Linked DNA regions of Homo sapiens: region 2 is linked to region 1. Evidence: promoter capture Hi-C in human tissues and cell types (Jung and others, 2019). All regions are on one chromosome and are shown on one strand. The core of a region is centred on a gene start or on the middle of the fragment in contact, and the rest is flanking DNA. Distances in the headings are between cores, read along the strand shown. Region 1 holds the start of IGFL1 (IGF like family member 1). Region 2 overlaps LOC105372424 (a long non-coding RNA gene).

Region 1 (3,395 bases), core at 877-3,376:
AGAAAGCTTTCCAGACCCTGGACACTAGTTAAAGATTAGATATTGATAAGAATGAAACACGCTGTCTTGCAGGTGCACTCCGCACATAGGCGTGGAGCTTAGAATGCATATAAGCACTAGAAAAAGAAGTTTGTAGCTTTGAGTTGGTCTGGTAAGCTACTCTGACCTTCTCCCCATAGCCAGTTGGAGAAAGAACCTCCGTTCTTTCCCAGTCTGTCTGCATCTCCTTAACGTACATCAAGAACAAACAGCCGGGTCCTGTTCTGTCCCAGAACTGGTGGGAGAGGGAGTGCCTCTCCGAAGCCCTCTCGCGATCCCCACCTCCTCCCCACCCCACCTGGGCTGCTCCCGATGTTGTGACTGGGTTCAGGGAGCCATGGGGTGGTGGAGGCTGGTGTAGGAGGGTGGCCCCTGTCCCAGGTGCGGCCAGGGTCCTAGTCACCGAGCACAAATAACAAAATAATAAATTTAAAAATAAATGGAAAAAGAGAAAATAAGTGTGTGCACGAACAGAACAAATGGAAAGGCCCAGATGCCTCAGGGTGACAGAGAGAAGGGGCCCCACGTCACCCTCTGTGACCCCTTTCAACAGTCCAAGCTCTCTAATTCATGAATTCTACAGCATTCATTTATAAAGTACATAAATTTATTATGATCCTGTGCTTTGCTCCTGGATAGAAGAGAACTTGAGATGATGGAAAATCTCACAGAAGGGTGAAGGGTTCCCCAGCCAGCCTTGGGGTGGTGCCGGGTTGATGTTGGCCATAGGGGTCATCAGGAGGGTTCAGAGTCCCTGGGCCCCCATCAGCACACGCATCTCATGCTGTCCAGAATTCTAGAAGGGGACCTGTGGGCCTCCTCAGGGCAGCTGCAGGGTGGGCCTCAGACAGGTCACAGAATGAAGTGGGCAGTTGAGTGTGTGTTTCTCTGGCCCCCAAACAGCCACTCAGCATCCCAGATCTCAGGTAACACCAGCCTCTTTCTCCAGGCCCACCCAGGAAGGAGAATCCAGGAGTCATCGTTCCCCTGATGTTCCATTAGCTGACACTGGAGATAGTGACAGAGAGAGACACTGAGCGGGACAGAGATGGCCAGAGATGGGGGCGAGACTGAACATGGGCAGAAATGAGGACAGGAGAGCCAGGAGGAGAGGACAGCGGGGTAGAGAGAGTGAGATTCTGAGAGGGAAATAAAAATGGATGGAGACACAGGTGTAGGGAAAGGGAGAGGTGGATTGAATAGAAGCAGGGGGCAGAGACAGGGAGACAAGGAGAATGGGGGCTCCACCCAGGGCAGAACAGGCATGCAGCTACCCTGCACCCACAATCCCACGGAGGGGACAGGACTCACCTGCGACAAAGCCTGTCATCCGAGGTCCGGGCTGAGTCGCAGTTCTGGTTTATCAGCTTCACCATGAAGGTCCAGGGGCAGCACTGCTCAAAGCAGACTCTGAAGGTGCAGTTTCCACACGTCTGGGTCCTGGCCAAGGGCACGACGGCATCATCATAGCAACAGTGCTGCAGGGGGTCGTAGAACTTGTCCCCACATCTCTTGTGTGGCTGGCACAGCATCAGGTAAGGAGTCATGGGGGCCACTGGAGGAGACAGAGCTGGTGAGATCCAGGAGGTAGTGGCAGGTGGGTCCCAGCCTGGGGTCCCCTGGAAGGTGTACCCCTCCTCCAGCTTCCCAAACACTCCTGGGCTCACCTGGGGCTCCGTGTGAGCAGAGGAGCCTGGAGATGCAGAAAATGGCAAAGACAGCTGTGGGAAAGGGAAAGGGAAGATGGGGTGAGTGGACAGCCACAGATATGACTGGCACTGACATTTAGAAGAAGACTGGGTGGAACCAGGGCTCGGTATGGCTTTGAGCAGCTCAGGGACTGAAACAGGGCTGTGGATGGGGCTGATCTGGGCACTATGGATGGGGAATTGCTGTGAGCAATTCACGCCTGGAGATTTGGCTGGGCATGGGAACAGGGATGAGGTGTAGTTTGGGGTAGGGAGAGAGCCCTGGTGGTGGCTGAGATTGGAGATGGGCTCAGGTGGGAATGGGGTCCTGTCCTCCTTACCTACGATGCAGCCTCGGGGAGCCATGGCTCTGGGTGGTTGCAGTGGAGTGAGGAGGGGATCAGCAGATCTCAGCCACTCCTTTTATCCCATATTTCTAGTGGAGCTGGTGATGTCATGGCATTTCCTGCCCTCCTGCAAGTCCTGCAGAGACAGGCTGGGTCCTTGGGCAGGAGAGGTGCCAGGCAGGGTACGTGTCATTGTAGCTTTGATCTCACCTTTGTAATCAGGAGAGAAGCGGTACACCCTCCACCTTCTCTGTGCTATGTGCCCCAATCGTCCCCCACACTGAGTCCTCTGGAAAATAGGAAGGTTCAGGATGCTCCTGGCATTAACACTCTCCGACACTCACATGTCCACACAGCGATTCCACAGGATCCTACTGAGCTATGACTTTCCTCAGTTTCCTTGGGACATTGCTAACCCATGACATCATTTCAAAGGGTCCCATTAGGTCCCAACCTCACAACCGAAACACATGGTCAAGAATCCAGTAACTTCTCAGTCACCTGCAGCTCATGGCATTCAGGTGGGAGAGACTGTGTGACTCAGGCACCTGACTTTCACAGGTTTGGAAGGTGGGAGTGGAGCTGGCGGGACCCCTGGGACTCAACACTCCTCTGGGGGCTCTTCATCTCCTTCTCTGTCTCATTAATGGTCATTTACCCAGGACAGGTCCACTTGGGAGCCTACATGTCCCAGGCTTCGTGTCAGACACCAGTGATGCAGTGCTGAGTAGAAAACGCAAAGTCAGTGTCTTCGTGACGTTCATGACAGTGAGAGGAGAGAGAGAGAGAGAGAAGGTAGGAGAATAAAACTCCTGATTTTGGTTATTGTCGTTCTTGTGTTTGGTGTCATTATCACTGTGAAGTTCTGGTGGAGAAATTCCACATCCCCCCCTGAGATTCTCAAAGGTGTTTTTCCTTAATGTGCTTTTTCAGAGGGTTGGGTTGTGATTTTCCCTGAGAAGAGCCATCTTGGGGTCAGGATGTGAGGACAGAGGGGAAGGAGCTGTTTTGGGTCAGTTCTGTGCCCCCCTACCCCTGCCCAGCTTCTGCAGGAATTCCTCCGCTCAAGCTCACAGGCCACACATGGCATGGACAAGCCGTTCTCCTCCGGGCCAGGCAAGGTGACCTGTCACCCTCTAGGCACCATGGCTGGCTCCTAGCAGGGCATGGATGTGGTTAGATTTGTGTGTGTGGAAGATCCTGCATCTGTGTTCCTGGGGAGCACGGATAGGGGCTTCTCTCTGGAGGCAGGAGACACAGGAAGAGGCTGCAGAGAAATGACTTCAATAAATACCAGAGTGCTCAGCACCCACCTTCTCCC
Region 2 (3,461 bases), core at 618-3,117, 58 kb after region 1:
TCCCCAATGTTGGAGGTGAGGCCTGGGGAGGTGTTTTGGTCATGGGAGGAGATTCCTCACAAATGTCTTGGTGCCCTCCTCACAGTAATAAGTGAGTTCTCACCCTGTTACTTTGTGCAAGAGCTGGTGACTTGAGTCTGACATCTCTCCTGTTCTCTGTCTTGCCATGTGACGTGACTGCTCCTCCTTTGCCTTCTGCCATATTGTAAGCTTCCCAAGGCCCTCACCAGAATCAGATGCTGGCACCATGCTTCCTGTACAGCTTATAAAACCGTGAGCCAATTAAATCTCTTTTCCTTATAAATTGCCAAGCCTCAGGTATTCATTTATAGCAATGGAAATGGACCAACAGAGGTAGTCTGCTTTATAATGGGTCAGAACGTGAATCACATGAGGATACGATAGTGCTTGTTATTCCTGAATTTTCCACATCATACAATTCACCTTCTGGGCTCCATATAGGGGAAGTGATTCTGGAAAACGTGGTTCCCACTTCAGAAGGAACAGTGGTGTTGGGGACACGTTGACAACAGAAAGTCTAGCACAGTCCACCCCATTCAAAAATAAGCATCTGTAGACATTTTCAACTTCCAAATAAAAGCAGCAACAATACTATTTTCCACCTAATGTGATGCAACTATTCATTTTACAACCCAAAGACCTTTAATCTTCTCTATGGAAGAGATATTTGAAAATGCTAGTCCGTCTCCCAGATGACTAACAACCCCTTTTGCTCTTTCATGCTATAAATACCAAGGATCAACCAATATAAACCTATATTACATAGAGGGGTATGAAGGCACTGAGACAAAAAGCAGAGGACTCAGTTAATACAGAAACTATATTCACATCAGCTGGGCATGGTGGCACATGTCTGTAGAGCTACTCAGAGGGCTGAGGTGGTAGGATTGCATGAACCTGGAAAGTGAAGGTTACAGTGAGCCAAGATCGCACCACTGCACTCCAGTCTACATGACAGAGCGAGACCTTGTCTGAAAAAAAATATATATATATACACATCAAAGTGAGGAAGATTATATAAATATCTAACTTAGTCCTTGTTTCAGCAGCTGGCCTTGAGGCTAAAGCTGGCATTTAAAAATTTCCTCTTTCAAGTTAGACACAGTGGCACATGCCTGTAATCCCAGCTACTCAGGTGGCTGAGGTGGGAGGCTCATTTGAGTTCCGGAGTTCAAGACCAGCCTGGGGAACGTAACAGAACTCCACCTGAAAAAAAATTTCTTCCACTATCCATTCCATAATCCCTATGCTCTCAGCAAACACCTCAACTGGCTGTGATTTTTTAACCTGGTGAAGTTACTCACGTCTTCATGAAGTATACATTCCCTCAGGAGTCCTTCCTGTAATGGATTATTATCATTTTCCCATGTTTTACAATGGGACGTGGGAGTTCTAAGAGGCATCCCACAGAATGCCTTGTGTGAGTGGTATAGTTATACTCTCTTCTGCCGATTGTGTAGTAACTACCCAATTCCCCCCTTGATAATCAGGACAATTTGCCACTTTTTACTATCAGGCTTTACACGATTTCTTCTACCTTAGACTATATAACCATTCAGTTACATCCAGGTTAATGGCTTCCACTTCCAAAGTCCGTATCTCTGGAGTCAACAGCAAGAACACTTCCTGCCAAGGACTACTCCAGATTTTTGCATGCTTAATCCAAAGCAAAAATAAGACCTTTTGAATTAGGGATGTTTCTATCATTAATCTTCATCACACATAATTTTTTTTTTGCAATTCAGATTCCTGGTGAAAGTTCTTCAGAGCTTCAAATTCCTTTTGGTGTAACAATATATTATTTGCACCAATTTTACCTGTACGGCACCCACTTTTCATTCTTATAAAACTTATCACTTGGTAAAAAAAATTCTCACTTTTCCTGAATGTCCTTTTGGTTCCTTGTAATATCCTCCATCTAGGCCATTCAACAGGGTGAGCTTCATACTGATGGGGAGTTCAAGAAGGGAGTTATCAAAAGATAAAGTAAGTGTACTCGCATTTTCTCCTTGAGAGGTTGGGTAAGTCAACAATAGACTAGACCTATGGAATATGAGAAACAGCAGGCTGTCCCTATAAGACAGGAGACTGCTGAGAGCTATGCTGAGTCCAAGGAAGAGAAGGCAGTTGTAAATTGTACTCAGAGTTAATTTGCCCTGACAGAAAATGGAGATAGAGAAAAATAAGACACAATACTCTGAAATGTGCATCTCCATGTCATTCCATGAATGGTATGGTCTAAGTTTGATTGTTTTATCAGTAGAGATTATCTTCGAACTCATCTGAGTGAGCAAGTCACCACTCTTGCCCAATAGCTTCTTCTCTCTGTCAATCTGAACCCCACCCATAATCTCGTCTTGAATAGCACCTCCCTCTGGCTGACTCCCCTTGACTTAGCTCCTGGCTCTTGACCCAGAAAGTGACTCATTCAGGCTATCACTTATCGGGGGAAGCAGCCCCCGATAATTCAACGTAGGTTCTTTTCTGTTTTCCCTAAGTGTCGGCCAGTCTGAGAAATAAAGCGAAAGAGTACAAAAGAAAGAAATGGTAAAGCTTGGTGTCTGGGGAAGACATCACAGGTCGGCAGGTTCCATGATGCCCCCTGAGCCATAAAACCAGCAAGTTTTTATTAGCAATTTTCAAAGGGGAGGGAGTGTACAAATAGGGTTTTATTAGCAATTTTCAAAGGGGAAGGAGTGTACGAATAGGGTGTGGGTCACAGAGATCACATGCTTCAAGGGCGACAAAAGATCACAAGGGCAGAAGGTCAGGGCGAGATCACAAGGTCAGGGTGAAACTAAAATCACTAATGAAGTTTCATGTCCCGCCGTGCACACATTGTCATTGATAAACATCTTAACAGGGTTCAAGAGCAGAGAACTGGTCTGACTAGAATTCGCCAGGCTGGAATTTCCTAATCCTAGCAAGCCTGGGGGTGCTGCAGGAGGCCAGAGCATGTTTCATCCCTTATCTGCAACTGCATAAGGCAGACACCCCCAGAGTGGCCATTTTAGAGGCCCCCCTGGGAAGGCATTATTTTCCCAGGGCTGTTAATTATTAATATTCCTTACTGGGAAAAGAATTCAGCAATATTTCTCTTACCTGTTTTCCGTAATAAGAGAAATATGGCTCTGTCCTGCCCAGCCCACAGGCAGCCAGACTTTAAGGTTATCTCCCTTGTTCCCTGAAAATCACTGTTATCCTGTTCTTAAGGTGCCCAGATTTCAAACTGTTCAAACACACATGCTTTACGAACAATTTGTGCAGTTAATGCAATCATCACAGGGTCCTGAGGCAGCATACATCCTCAGCTTATGAAGATGATGGGATTAAGAGATTAAAGATAGGCATAGGAAATTATAAGAGTATTGATTGGGGAAGTGATAAATGTCCATGAAATCTTCACAATTTATGTTCTTCTGTTACGGCTTCAGCAGGTC

Evidence for each region. Contacts are between HindIII fragments. The study calls those that stand out against the background at their distance.
Region 2: a fragment that was not itself captured here is called in contact with the fragment with the promoter of IGFL1 in region 1 in 10 of the 25 tissues and cell types used here (H1 embryonic stem cells, IMR-90 fibroblasts, aorta and 7 more).

The regions. Positions count from the first base shown.
Region 1 is chr19:46,228,473-46,231,867 of GRCh38, reverse strand. It overlaps IGFL1 (IGF like family member 1), which reads right to left and starts at 2,126. Exons shown (of 4, transcript NM_198541.2): 1 at 2,069-2,126; 2 at 1,707-1,760; 3 at 1,351-1,594; 4 at 625-1,047. The coding sequence starts at 2,093. The coding sequence ends at 1,038. RefSeq lists an enhancer at 1,579-2,778. The HindIII fragment of the contact is 10,872 bases long and covers 1-3,395 here.
Region 2 is chr19:46,170,270-46,173,730 of GRCh38, reverse strand. The region is part of intron 4 of LOC105372424 (a long non-coding RNA gene); the gene reads left to right. It also overlaps a transcript of IGFL2 not described here. Among named protein-coding and RNA genes, the nearest start is that of IGFL2, 24 kb to the right of the region's middle. RefSeq lists an enhancer at 2,549-3,099. The HindIII fragment of the contact is 4,773 bases long and covers 1-3,461 here.